Regions from separate parts of the Homo sapiens genome. Here region 2 is linked to region 1. The links are contacts of gene promoters, found by promoter capture Hi-C in blood cells and fetal thymus (Javierre and others, 2016). All regions are on one chromosome and are shown on one strand. The core of a region is centred on a gene start or on the middle of the fragment in contact, and the rest is flanking DNA. Distances in the headings are between cores, read along the strand shown. Region 1 holds the start of PLCB1 (phospholipase C beta 1). Region 2 overlaps PLCB1 (phospholipase C beta 1).

Region 1 (6,472 bases), core at 3,171-5,670:
ACCTTGATAAAATTCACGTCCATCTTATTTTTGAGGGACAATAACTTTTTTTTTTTTTTTGAGACAGAGTCTTGCTCTGTCGCCCAGGCTGGAGTGCAGTGGCGCGATCTCGGCTCACTGCAAGCTCCGCCTCCCAGGTTCACGCCATTCTCCTGCCTCAGCCTCCCGAGCAGCTGGGACTACAGGCGCCCGCCACCACGCCCGGCTAATTTTTTGTATTTTTAGTAGAGAGGGGGTTTCACCGTGTTAGCCAGGATGGTCTCGATCTCCTGGTCTTGTGATCTGCCCGCCTCGGCTTCCCAAAGTGCTAGGATTACAGGCTTGAGCCACCGCGCCCGGCCGACAATAACTTTTAAAAACATGTTTTATTGAAGGTTGCCTGTATGTCAGGCTTTATACAAAGCAATGCATATGCATTCATTTATTTAACCTCAACAGCTGTTCTGAGTTAGGAAATATTACAATTTGCATGTTACCGTTGAGGAAACTGAAGTTGGGATGCGTTAAGCAACCTGCCCACAGTAAGATCTGAATTTGAAAGGTAAGAATGAAGAAACAGAAGGAATAAATAAATGAAAACCCTTCCATCCCTCAGAGGTTGTGCGACAGTGAGACAGAGTGCTTAGGCATGGAAAACAGGGCCAAATCAGTGGCTGGGGGTCCTATTGTACAGTTTACAGTCCTTGCTCTTTCTCTCCATGTCCTGCCCAATATAGACCAAGGCCAAGATCCAGAAGAGAGAGGAGCTTCTCTCACAATCTCCCAAGCTCCCTAGCTTAGATCAAGAAAGTAACTCTCCTTCCACTGTCTACCTCACCAGAATTCTCCCACAAATACCCATAGTCCTTTACACCCACCTCCTACCACCAGAGCCTGCTAACAGACAAATGCAAAACAAAAGCAAAGACATGAGGTTGAATTTTTTAAATATCATTAGGTCAGTCCTTTATCTTCATGCCAAGTTCAGAAGGACAGGTATAGCCTTGATGTTCAGACAATATACACCATGAGTTTTAAAATACTGAAATAGTCAAAAAAACTCCAGCTACCTACCCACCCATCCACAGACCCTGGGGACTCCCAGACCTCCCCATGACCAAGCAGCAAAAATATTAACGCCTGGCCCTGGTACAACAGGGTATCTCCAGGATCTATTACCCCCCTGCTGTCTGTTGTGATTGTTTAGTGCCTATGTTAAAGCTTTCGACTACCACCCTTAGAGCATCCACAGCCTCACTGTGACTTGGTAGGTGGCCAGCAAATTATGCATGGCACTGCAACCTCTGGGTGACATCTTCCATTCCATATGGTGGTCAAGACAACAAGACCAGTGATTATACTGCTTTAATCACTTCAGGAACAAGAGATAATTTCTTCACATCCTAAACAGCCCCAAATTCATCATTTTTGAATGTCCTGTAACATTACCACGCTTTTACACAAGAAGCAGCAAAAATACAGAGAAGCTAAGTGATTTGCCTAAAGTCATGCAGCTTACTGGTGAAAGAACTAGGAGGTAAACTCAGGCCTTTGATTCAAGATCTGGTTCTTTTTTGTCTTCAACACACTGTCTCACTAAGGTACAATATAAATAGCCAGATAACTTGAACTGGCTTGATTCTGGAAGGGCAAATACGAGCTGAGAAGAGTAGAAAAGGGATGCCTGGGGAAGAGAAAGGCAACCTTAAGAAAGGCTGGGTCCCTTGTAGTCCACTGATCAGCATGAAGACCCAGAGAACCAAAGAGCCTGCAAGATAGCTCATTATATTCCAGATAACTTGACTCCTGAGTGCAGTCTAGGTTTTTTTTTTTTTTTTAAAAAAGACCTGAAATTCTTCTGGTCTTCTCCTTAGTGACTATGTCCTTTCTTTCAGGAGGGCTTCCTTGGAAACTCACTGCTGCAATGCTCAGAAGGAGCTCTTTTCAACTTCTTCTTTGGTTGGTATTTCACTAACGTCCTCTCTATTACCCTCAATGCATCACCCAATCTCTCTCTCATTGGTGTTTTTGATGATTTTTGTCTCCTCCACCTAGCATGTAAGGTCCGTAACAGCAGGGATTTTGTCTACTTTTTTCACCACCCCAGAATCCAGTCTAGGATTGGCAGTAATAGGTGAGCAAGAAATATGTGTTACAGAAATGCACATAATGAAAGTCATCTACCTGGATATACCAAAATGTGTTTTCATAGAATACTTTCATTCTCAATGTGATGTTGGCTATTCTCTCCCAAACAAGAAATTATAGAGAATTATTTAAAATACAGTTTAGAATCATCACTGTATACAAATCCAGAGCTTACGCTGAAACTCCCTTTTCTAAATTCTGCAAAGTCTCTTTCTCTTTCCTCTGCCCTTCACTCTCTTTCTCAGTAAATCCATCATCACATCACCTCTCTATTCAAGGATCTCAAAATGGGCAAGACCGTCTTGTTTATTGCTGAACTGCATTTTCTTTGTCTTTTTTTTCCCTGACACAAAGCATTTAATCTGCGTCTGAATTTATTGTTTAGATTCTATTCCATTTACAGAAACATTCAGTACAATTAGACTGGAACAGAAAGAAGAAAAGTGTGAAGCCCATGGTAAAAAGATGTATGTTTACATCCTTGCCTACAGCATTTAATAATTGGCACGAGCTTTCAAGGAAGCTGTGGTTCATACTCCAAGTTCCGTTTGCGCTTCCAGCTGGACAAAATATAGACACAGACGCACTCAGCTAAGTAATTGGATTCACTACCTGGAATATTTAAATTGTTTTCAGACACTGGAAAATGGCTTAAGAAGATTAAAGAAAAATACCCTAGAGGATAACAGGCTATAATTTACTAGGTGGAAAATCTTTTCGGCAAGAAGAACGCCTCATTCTCCTATAATTCCTTCTGATTAAGAGATGTATTAGTCATTTGGACTTAAATTTGCTTAGAGCCTGGCAACTCGGGTTTATTTCAGTAGGTTTTTCTTATCGAACCTTTAGAATGACACCCAGGACATAAAACTGATACCATAATGTTCTCCATCCGAAGATTCGCATGTTTTCAGCTGGATAACTAATTTACGTGTTTTGAAGACAACTGGGGTAGAGGGGAAGGGGAAGTCATTTGAAGTCCTGGGGTCTGGGCCGCTCGTAAAGCATTAGAGACCCCGGCGCTGGGCTAGGCTCTGCCCTACCTGGCAAACGGTGCAGGTAAATCGTGGGGCAAACTCTCAACCTGTCTATTTCAGGCAGAAGACTCCAATCAGCTCAGTTCTCAAAAGTCAGCCCTCCCCACTTGCCTGCAGGCCCATGAGCCCTCCAGGACCCCTCAAGGGCCCCCATTCTGTTCACGCCCTCCCCAGATGTGTCCCCGCAGCCCTTTTCAGGGACCCTCACTCCGGAGCCAGGCGCTGAAGTTTGGCATCAACGACCACCTGTTGGCTGGACCGTTGTGTCCTCCGCCGCCTTGGCTCCCACAAAAGCGCCAAGAGGGTTCGCAATCACTAAAGTGTTTTGAACTTCAGGTCCTTCCTTCTTGAAATCGGGCAAAAGAGGTAATAGGGGGTGCGTCCGCAGGCGGAGAGGGACGCGATTTGTTCACACCAGGCGCTTTCCAGTTGGTCCCAACTTCACACTCCCTACTTTCCGAACTCTCAGGACCTGTCACCAGGCAAAGCTTGCCCCTCCCTCTCCACTGGCCCAAAAGATGTAAGACCCTCAGGGGGCGCCTGCCAGACCCAGAAAGGATGGCAACTACTGAAGCCCGATGAAACAGGAGCGCGCGCAAAGCTTCTGCCCTTGGACATCCGCTTTGGCAGATGCCAACCTGTGCGCCCGAGGCTGCCCCTGCCCGCTCCCAGTGCGCCCATTGCATAACGCGCCCCTTGCCCCACCCCCACGACGCCCGCCCTGCCCGGTGCCCGAGCCAGCGCCCCGACTCGGGCCGCCCCAATACTTACATCATCCCACTTGACGAATTTGGTGCCCTTCTTGAGGCTGTCGGACACGCACACGGGCTTGAGTTGCAAGGCGTGCACTCCGGGTTGAGCCCCGGCCATCTGGGCTCATCTGGGCTCCGGGCGGCCCGGGCGAGCGCGGCAGGGACTGGGGACCGTGCGCGGGGCGCGGGGCGCGGGGCGCGGGCTCCTTTCTCTGCTCCGGAGGCGCTCGACTCTGCTCCCCGCCGGCCTCCCCGGCCTCCCGGCCTCCGCACCTCCCTCCGGCGCCGCTCAGCAGGCAGAGCGCGCGGGGGCGCAGCGCCCGGCCATGCCCCGGGCGGGACGCGAGGTCTGGAGCCCGCGGTGGATGAGGAGCCTCGGAAGGCGAAGAGAAGCCGAGCCGGTCAGCCGAGGCTGCCAGTCGCGGCGGATTCTGCTCCTCCGCCGCCGCCGCCTCAAAGCGCACCATTCAGCACATCCTCTATACACAGAGGGAGAGAGCGAGTGACACACGCCCGGCGCCCCCCCTAACCGCTCTTTTCCCTCCTCCCTCCTCCTCCCCCCCGCCCCCCTTCCCCGCCACCCTCGCTCGCTGGGTCCTTCCTTCCCCCCGCGGCTCCCAGCCCAACTTTGCACGCTGGGTCAGGCGCCAGGAAGCGGGGACGCAGCGGCACCTCCTGGCTCCCGAGCCCCATTGCAGCCAACGCCTGCCTCCCGCATTCGCTCTGAGCATGCCCCGTGCCCTGGTTGCAGAGGTGCTAGGGGTCCCCAGGAGCCTTACGCTCTTTGGGGTTTTCTTGGGAATTTGGGCTCGAGCTCCGGAGCGTCTTTGGATCCCAACTGGCTGGGAAAAGGGGCCCATCGGGAGGAACCAAAGAGGCAACCCCTGGCTTTTGGCTCTAGCTGGAGCTCTCCAGCGCCAGCCACAAACCAGCTTTTTGAAGAGAATTATCATTTATCAGCAGAGAAGAGCGCAGTTGAGAGGCTCTTTGAGGAAACCTGGCCGCGCCTGAGAGTTTGCAGCGCGCTGATCTTGAAACCCGGGCAAACGGTTACGTTGTGCTTTCGAGACAGAAAGCCCATCCTAAAGAAAGCAAAGGTTTTATTTTCCGAGGAAGAAAGAGGGTGCCCTCTCCCGCTCCTCTCCTTGAGTGTGTAGGATGTGTGGCGGGTGGGGGAGAGTCTTATTAATAGAAACTTGCTCATTTAGGAACATAGGTCCAGGAATGTTTGTCTTCACTCCTTCCACAAACATTTCTCAATTCAAGAAAGAAAGGGAGGGAGGGAGGGAAGAAGGGAAAGAGGAGGACCAGAATGGATAAAATTTTAAAGACTGGTAATACCAAATGCTTGAAAGGATGTGGAGCAACTGGAACTCTTTTTTTTTTTTTATTAAGGAGAGAGAGGAGAGGGAGAGAGAGAGTGAGTGAGTGTGAGAGAGAGAAAGAGAGAGAGAGAGAGACACACGCGGGAGGTGGGGGGGCGGAGAGAGAAATAGCTTGGAACTCTTGTTCATTGCTGGAGGGAATATAAAATAGTAAAACCACTTTGGAGAATAGTTTCTTATAAAGTAAGATATTTACTTATCATACAACCTAGAAATTCCACTCCTAAGTATTTGTCCAAAAGAAATGAAAACGTTCAAGTCTGCAGGGACTTGTAAAGTGATGTGAAGAACTTTCTTCTTAGTAGCCTGCAAATGTCAATCAACAGGTGAATGGATAAACAAACTGTGGTATGCCCAAATATTGGAATACTATTCCACAATAAAAATGAGTGGGCATGCAAGATCAGGGATGAATCGCGACTTTAAGCTTTGTAAAAGAAGCCGGACACGATAGACTGTATGCTGCCTGATTCCATGTGTAGGAATTGCAGAATAGGCAAGATATTCTATGTTGACAGAAAGCTTGCCTGTGGCCAGGGATAGGTAGAGATGGACAGGGAAGGGCTACGAGCACCTGATGAGCATGTCGGAAATGTTCTATATCGTGTGTGTGTTTATCAAAACTTGTAAGTTCTGTAAGTACGCCTAAATTGAGTGCAGTTTGTTTTAAATAAATTATATCTCAAAAAGGTTGATTTTTAAAAAGAAGAAAGAATACGAAGAGAGAAAAATGGAGAGAAACACTACATTCTCTTAATCCTTCATTCTCCCTGTTCTCTGCCCTCAGGACTCCAAGGCCCAATGCTTATGAACTCAGTCAAAAGATTACCAAAATCCAATACAGAAATTTGCTATTAAATATTTCAATGCATTTAAAATATACTTATTGGTAGCCAGCTGTATACTAGCCACTATTGTAATCACCATGGATAACCTGGTGAACAAGACCCATGACTCTTGCTGTCATTTGAGGGTCTTGCCTTGTGCTTGGAAGCCAATTGCTACAAAGAATTTCATGAAAAACTGACTGGTTTCATTTTGATCACATGTCCCTAAACTAAAACCTGAATGGTCCACAGTCCCTCTAGCCAGCAGCCTTGGCTTGCTAATTACCTCACAGAAGGTATCAGTCACCGTCTCAAGTCGATTTTCTCTACTTCAGAGTACTGCA
Region 2 (7,294 bases), core at 3,911-6,410, 240 kb before region 1:
TTTTGGTTATTACATTTGGATAAAGATCTCCCAAGTTCTCTCTAATGTGAAATTTTAAAACTGGCAACTTGAACAAAGGTTATATACAGAAAAGAAGATCTGGAATTTCATGTATTGTGTTGGGGGTTGACATTTAAATTCATAAACAGGGTAACACATGGAAGCTTTTCCATTTCCTGTAAATGTTATTTCAAATCACAGCAGGCACAAAAAACAGTTCATTTTCAACCAGATCTTGAATTTTTATGTAATGAGATGCTGTAAAAAACAAAAATAATATGAATATAGAGATAAATATTTGTGGGGTGCCTGGGTATTTTGATAAATATCTGCTTCACAAATGTTCTTCCTTCCTTTATGGTCTATAAGCCCCCGCAGAAAGTCTTGCACTCAATCTGTCCTTTTGTTACATTGCCTTTCTGTCCCCAGTTTCCAAGCTTTCTTCACTTTATCCTGGTATCTTTATACTTTTAATCTACTCTAAGTCCTGTTGCTGCTTTTGTTCTAACCAACTCAATGGTCTAGTTTTCCTCTTGCAGGCCCTACACCTTCTTCTACAAGGTAGTTATACTGTAATCCTGATACAATTCTCTGATAGGCAGCTAGTCTCTCTTTTGGGCCACCCCATATGACACTGTTAGGTGGGGAGGCCAGGAGCTGCCAAGGGTGGTGTGCAGAGGGTAGCATCCAAGGGGAACCTGAAGATGGAAAAGGACCCGGTAATAGTCCGTTCTCACACTGCTATAAAGAACTTCCCAAGATGGTAGTTTACAAAACAAAGAGGTTTAACTGACTCACAGTTTTGCATGGCTGGGGAGGCCTCAGGAAACTTACAATCATGCTGGAAGACGACGGGGAGGCAGGCATCTTCTTCACAAGGAAGCAGGAGAGAGTGAACTCAGGAGGAACTACCAAACACTTATAAAACCATCAGATCTCGTGAGAACTCACTCACTTTCACGAGAACAGCATGGGAACTGCCCCCATGATTCAATTACCTCCACCTGGTCTCTCCCTCGACACATGGGGATGATGGGAATTACAATTCAAGATGAGATTTTGGGTGGGGACACAGCCAAGCCATATCAGAACCCCTACCAGAACCTTGCATGGCATACTGATGAAAAAAAGAGGCACCTAGTCCTTGGTGACATTAACTGAGCAGTGGAATGAAACTTCACCTGAACCTGGCAATTCCGCTGAAATTTTCAATACATTCCAGTCATTTTCAATAAATTATATTTTTATTTGTCCAATTTGAGCTGAGGTTTTCTCTGGAAATTTGAAGATTTTAAACTGATAGTAATAGCAACTTCTTTCTTGCCTGTCAATCCACAACCCCCTTTGAGATAAGCCCCTCCTCTGATCCCTTTTGCTGACATAAACATTTCCAAATTAAGTGAGTGAAATGAAAAGTGGCTTTCTACAATTCTGACTTGAATTTTTTAGTGATAACAAAAGCAACAATGTTACTACCAACAATATTGGCTAATATTTAGTAAGTACTTATTGTACACCAAGAGTAAGTTAAGGCAGTGGTGCTCAAATTTTGCTGCAAATTTGTTTTTCAAATCCATCATGCCCACACCACACCTGTATCAATTTGATTCTTATGGTACCAGCATTTCTGGAGGCGGAAAACACACATCAGCATTTTTGAAAGTTTCCCAGGTAATTCCATGAGCAATTAAATTTGAGAACTCCTGTGCTAAAGGTTTCCTAATGAATTATTTCATTTAATCCTTATAGCAACCATTTCAAGTACTTATTATTATCATTATCTTCACCATTTAGCCAACAAGGAAGAAGCTGGAGTCTCAGGAAAGCCACACAGGTAATGTTTAATAGAACCAGGCTTTGAAAATATTAGAGGAGAGTGAGGTTCTTGAACATCAGCAATAAATAGGAGGGAAAAAAAGGAAGCCAGGAGCATAGATAATTCAAAGAGGAAGTAATCAGTCCCTCCAAGAAAGAGCTGATGGAGAAAAGCTGACAAAGTCAGAGTATTCTAAGTGTTAAAAATCCATCCTCACGAGAAGCATTTGAGGATCTAACAGTGGTTTATCAGCTGAGCACAGTACAGGCCCTACTGCTGTTCATTTGTCACTGTTCAGTAGACATTTATCAAACCACATCCATAAACGAAACACTTAACTGATAAGCAAGCTGTGTACCGCAATAAAAGAGACAGATTCAAGCCTGAAAGAAACCCTCCATGTGGCAGCAGAATTCACTTTGACTCCCAATGCCTGGGGACAAACAGGGCTCTGATGCAGTGTCGGCAACTGTCTTTAAAACTAATATCGATATTGAAATTGCAAGTTAGGCCAATAAACTTAGGTTCAAAGATAAATTTCATAGCTGCATTATCAATATAGTTCTTGGAACTAACAGGCTTATATGAAATTTGGCTGAAATGTTGTTGGGGGAAGAAGAAAAAATATTCTTTCCTATACTAAAAACTGTGAGCAATTTTGAATCATCAACAAAGCATTAATTATAGTAAGTCTGATACAAAACTGAGAGGCTAAACTATTGAAATTCCATGTTACTAAGGAGATAAATGTAAATAACAGATTAGTTTCATATGAAACACTTATAGAAGCCTTCTTGAATACAGTTCTAATTTTTCTTTCAAAAATCTTTGTTTTTTACATTTTACCATAGATCATTTTAACCCTTTCAGCAAATAAAATAAAAATTAAAAAATTAAAAAACCCAGCAGCCGTGTGTTTGCTGTGTCATAGAATATGCTGGCACCTACTGCCTTTTTACGCCTCTGAAGAATAATTATTCCAGGTGATTTTTTTTTCTTGCATCTCCAAAGCAACAGATCATTTTAATGTCAGAGAAAGAATTTTGACTTTTAAAAGATAAAACAAAAGTTGTGGGAAGACACTCAAATAGAAAATAGCTAGTTTTATATCAAGTATGGAAAGACGCATTGAGCTCCTAAATGGCAACTGTACTTCTATGTTTGCCAATACCCTCTCTGCCAGAAATGAAGTATGTAAAGTACTAAATTTTAAATAAAATGAAGAATAGCTTTTAACTTTGATGGCAAGACAACATATCCTGCTACTATATCCTACCAGATCATCTAAGCTTAAAAAATTATGTTCTTCATCCAATATTTAAAAATTATCTTCAAAAAATAAACAGACTGCAAACACTTCTTTGAATATTTCTTCAGTAAGTTTTTCAAACCAAAACAAATGACACTGCACACAATTCATCCCAAAGTATGCTGATCTTTACTAGTAACATTTGCAGAATTAAGACTATACACCTTTTGGCATTGTGGATGGAATCATTTCAATTGCAGAGCATTTCAGCTATATGGGAGTTCTATTCATCATGTCTAACGGTTAGTTCCCATATGTTTACGAGGTTCAAAGATTTTTTCAAATAATTTCAAGTACTTTTTAATCATTTAGAATTACCCAGTAACTTGGGCATTGTTGTCGTTGTCTTTTTTTTTCAAACAAAGGCAAAATTAGAGGACATAAAGCAAGCCCCTCTGTCCAAGAGCCCACATATTTGTTCATTGTTTCCGTCTTTTAATAAAAGTGAAAGTGTTTAGGGCATACTGGCTATTGTGTTTTACAACATCTATAACATAGAAACTTTTAATTGGGGCAATTAATTGATATTGTGACACAGCCAAACAATCAAGGCAGCATCTGGTGCATGCACAACACTCAACCTCCTACCTTGGGAGCTTTGGCGTGTCTCCCACATCTGGCATCTTTGACAAGGCTGAGATCCAGTAGCTCTGTCTCCTGGAAGGCAAAAACGTGAAATCGTTAAGCAACGACACAGACCTTTCCTCTTTGTTTTATGTCATTGACATCACTTAAAAAAATTATCTTGAGACTTGACTGAAGACTTCTCTGCAGTTGGGATATTTCTTTCCTCTTATATCACTTCTCAATTGAATTAGGTTGGAAACAAAAGACAGCTAACTGCTAACTGCTCAGTTATACATTTTGAAAGCAAAAAGTGTGTGGTTATGTCCCCAGTCTATCCTACAAGCCATTCCTAAATCATGATGAATCAGGTCTTCTTGTTCTTACTTTTGAATATAATCCTGGGAGTCACTGAGCGTAGGTGAGGGTATGAGGGTATGTCGGTAGAGAGAAAGATTAGGGAGGAGGACGGAGTGGGATGCTCCCATCGGCTCACATACATACCCAGCTTATCTGGCCAAGGCAGAGATACGAATCTGCCTCTGACAGCCCCCAGCCTTTTGCACACATACCTCATGCCCTGATCTTTTCACTTAATCATTACCCATCATTGAACACCTGTAATACACAAGTTACTCTAGGGAATAAGGCATAGAAGATATGATTGCTTTCCTGGATGGACCTGTCATCAAATAGGAGTGTAAAGAAATGTATATGTGTAAGACAAGGGGGAATGTGTTAATGCCAATTTTAAAGTTGACTACTATGGTTGGGGGGCAGCAAAGAAAACACAGTTTTTTTCCTAGGGGCTCAGAGAAAAGTTTATGAGAAATCATTAAGCTTGGAAAAAAAGAAGTTGGGGAGGGGTTCCTCCCAGTTGGAGGGGAAAATATGAGCAAATGCCTAGATGAGAAAGGGCCAGAGGTTTTGGCTGAACCTTGAGGTGTTCGTGGCCTTTAGACACTTAGAGACAGAGAACATTGCGGGGAAAGGAGGTAGGGAGAAGGATAGAGAAGCATCCAGGAGGGAAGAACTGCAAAGGTGCAGGTACAGTGGTATTGTAGAAGGATGGAAGCGGATTCACGTGGGAGGACATTCAATATTCCATTGGCTAGGCCACAGAACATGTGACAAGAAGTCATGAGAGATGACATCAGAAAGGAATATGGCCAAAGAATGGAAACCCTAAATGTCTGGCTAAGGAGACTGAGCCATGAGGTTTGTGACACACACAGGTTGCTGCATTAGACAGTGGACTCTACCACCAGCCAGGTAGGACTGTGGTGCAGTGAGCAGTTGTCTTAAAGTGACTCCAGATGTCCTAACTATGATTCCTGGGCAATGAGCAAGTTGGATGGAGCATCGAATCCCCTTCTCCCGGAAGGAGGCACTGCATCCTAATTCAGCTGCCAATAGAACCTCTGGATAGGAGTGGCTGTAACTTCTTAAAGGCCAAGCTCCCTAAGAACCAGCACCTTTTGCTCTTAGTCAACTTCTTCAAACAGCTGCTGCCAGTTCCAAATGTCTGGTGCAAACTGGTCTGATTATTTTTCTGCACCTAAGATTGCCTTGTAGTAAAGGCCAAATTAAAGGTGAAGTCTCACTCCTCGAATGCAAACCCACACAGAAGGTCCAACAGAACTCCTGACACACCTCTCTGTGAGATGAAGGGTGGACAGGAAACAGTGGGTCTCTGCTCTTGCTCACTCTGACCTTGTAAGTTTCATTTTCCCCATTTTAGAGGGTTCCTTAGCCCATTTCATGCTGTGTCTGACCCTGTGGAAATTCTCCCAAACCCCTGGGGTGTGACAGGTGGCAACCCAGCAAGGAATTTGCAATACAGAGTGACTGGTGCCACAGTTCCCCGAAGGCCACACCATCCACAATATTGGAGGTTACCTTATGAGTGTTAGAAAACAATGGTCTCAACCATGTTCAATGCTTCACTTCAGAAAATGCACATTATAGAACCCTCTGTGAAGAAACGGTGGAAAAACCAGACATGAGTAAGTCAAGCATATGTCCAGGTTTCTTCATCTCTACAGCAATGACAACCAAAATATTTGCTGGAAGAGGAGAAACAGTAAGGGAATCAAGCTTGAAGAAGTTTAATCTAGAAGATGGGAAATAAGTGGAGATCTGAGAGGTGAAAGATGAGAGACAAAATGAAGGTAAGTAATTGGAAGAAAGAGGAGAGAGATGGCAATGGAGGAACTGACTGAAGGAAAGAGGGAAGTCATAAAACACGCTGCAGTTTCCACCTTTCCTACACTGAGACTCAGAAGTTTGGGCAAAATGATAGTGCATTCTGGAGATGTTGGTTTGAGGGGTTTATCCAAGTGAAAATGCCAGTAATTAATTCACTGGAGCATTATTTATTGAATGCCTACAATGTATCAGGTATACACTAGTACTGAGAAACTAAAACATACAAAGATAAGATCCCAGTTTCGATGAGTTCACAAGCAAGTCAAATATTATATGCTAAAGGAAATATTTCAAAGTGCCCTACAGACATTGGCTACAGAGAGCTATGGCATGATTTCAGCCAGTACACAAGGATGAGACAGAGTTTGCCAGCCTTATAACTGTGTGATCGGGGTGGGAGGGTGGGTGGTGGTTTCAGAGAGAGGAAATTGCGGGTAGAAACTCACAGAAGCAGGAATTGTGTGCAGAAAACTACAACCCACTTAGGATATGTCACAGAGGTATATGGAGCATTAGCAACAATCACTTTGGGATTTAGTGGTCATTACATGGGTGTTCTCTTTATAATTATTTATAAAACACTAACATTTACATTTGATGTAATTTTCCATATATGTTGCATGATGTTTTACATCTATATAGGATAAAAATATATCTCTCACACACAGTATTTTTACCTAATCAATAGTAATATTTTCTTTTATTTTTTCTTTTTCTTTTTTTTTTTTTTTTTTTTTTGAGAGACAGAGTCTCACTCCATCACCCAGGCTAAAGTGCAGTGGTGCAATCTCAACTCACTGCAACTTCTACCTCCCGGGTTCAAGTGATTCTCGTGCCTCAGCCCTCGAGTAGCTGAAATTACAGGCACACACCACAATGCTCTGCTAATTTTTGTATTTTTAGTACATACGGCATTTTGCTATGTTGGCCAGGCTGGTCTCAAACTCCAGACCTCAAGTGATCCACTCGCCTCGGGCTCCCAAAGTGCTGGGATTGCAGGCATGAGCCACCGTGCCCGGCCCGTAATATTTTCTATTTAAGGAAATTCCTCCCAATTGAAGAAACAATAGACTTAAACATAACTTGTTTGATTATATACGCAAAGCCCAAATTGAATTAACAAAGAACTAGATCTTAGCAGGCATCATTATATAGACTTTTGCATTACAGATAATGAACTCTGTATTCCACTTCCAGGATTCATTCCCCAAGCCACGGAAGGGTAGTTAACGCCAACTGTGTGCATGAAAACCACCGCAGGGCACTGTCATCAAGGGTAATGTGGCGTGGGGAAGACCTGGGTGGAAATGCCGTCCATGAACTCATTTGGCTACAAAGCGATGATTCAAATAGTGTCTCCCACTTCTATTAACATACCACAGCCACCCCTCTGGAGT

The links. Contacts are between HindIII fragments. The CHiCAGO score rates a contact against its expected background, and 5 or more counts as called.
Region 2: a contact is called between a fragment that was not itself captured here and the fragment with the promoter of PLCB1 in region 1, in 2 of 17 cell types (megakaryocytes and M0 macrophages). The highest score is 5.6, in megakaryocytes.

What each region holds. Positions count from the first base shown.
Region 1 is chr20:8,130,214-8,136,685 of GRCh38, reverse strand. It overlaps PLCB1 (phospholipase C beta 1), which reads right to left and starts at 4,420. Exons shown (of 32, transcript NM_015192.4): 1 at 3,936-4,420. The coding sequence starts at 4,034. RefSeq lists a silencer at 4,195-4,334. The HindIII fragment of the contact is 1,963 bases long and covers 3,768-5,730 here.
Region 2 is chr20:8,367,870-8,375,163 of GRCh38, reverse strand. PLCB1 (phospholipase C beta 1) reads right to left here. Exons shown (of 32, transcript NM_015192.4): 3 at 3,714-3,782. Among named protein-coding and RNA genes, the nearest start is that of PLCB1-IT1, 120 kb to the right of the region's middle. The HindIII fragment of the contact is 1,257 bases long and covers 4,532-5,788 here.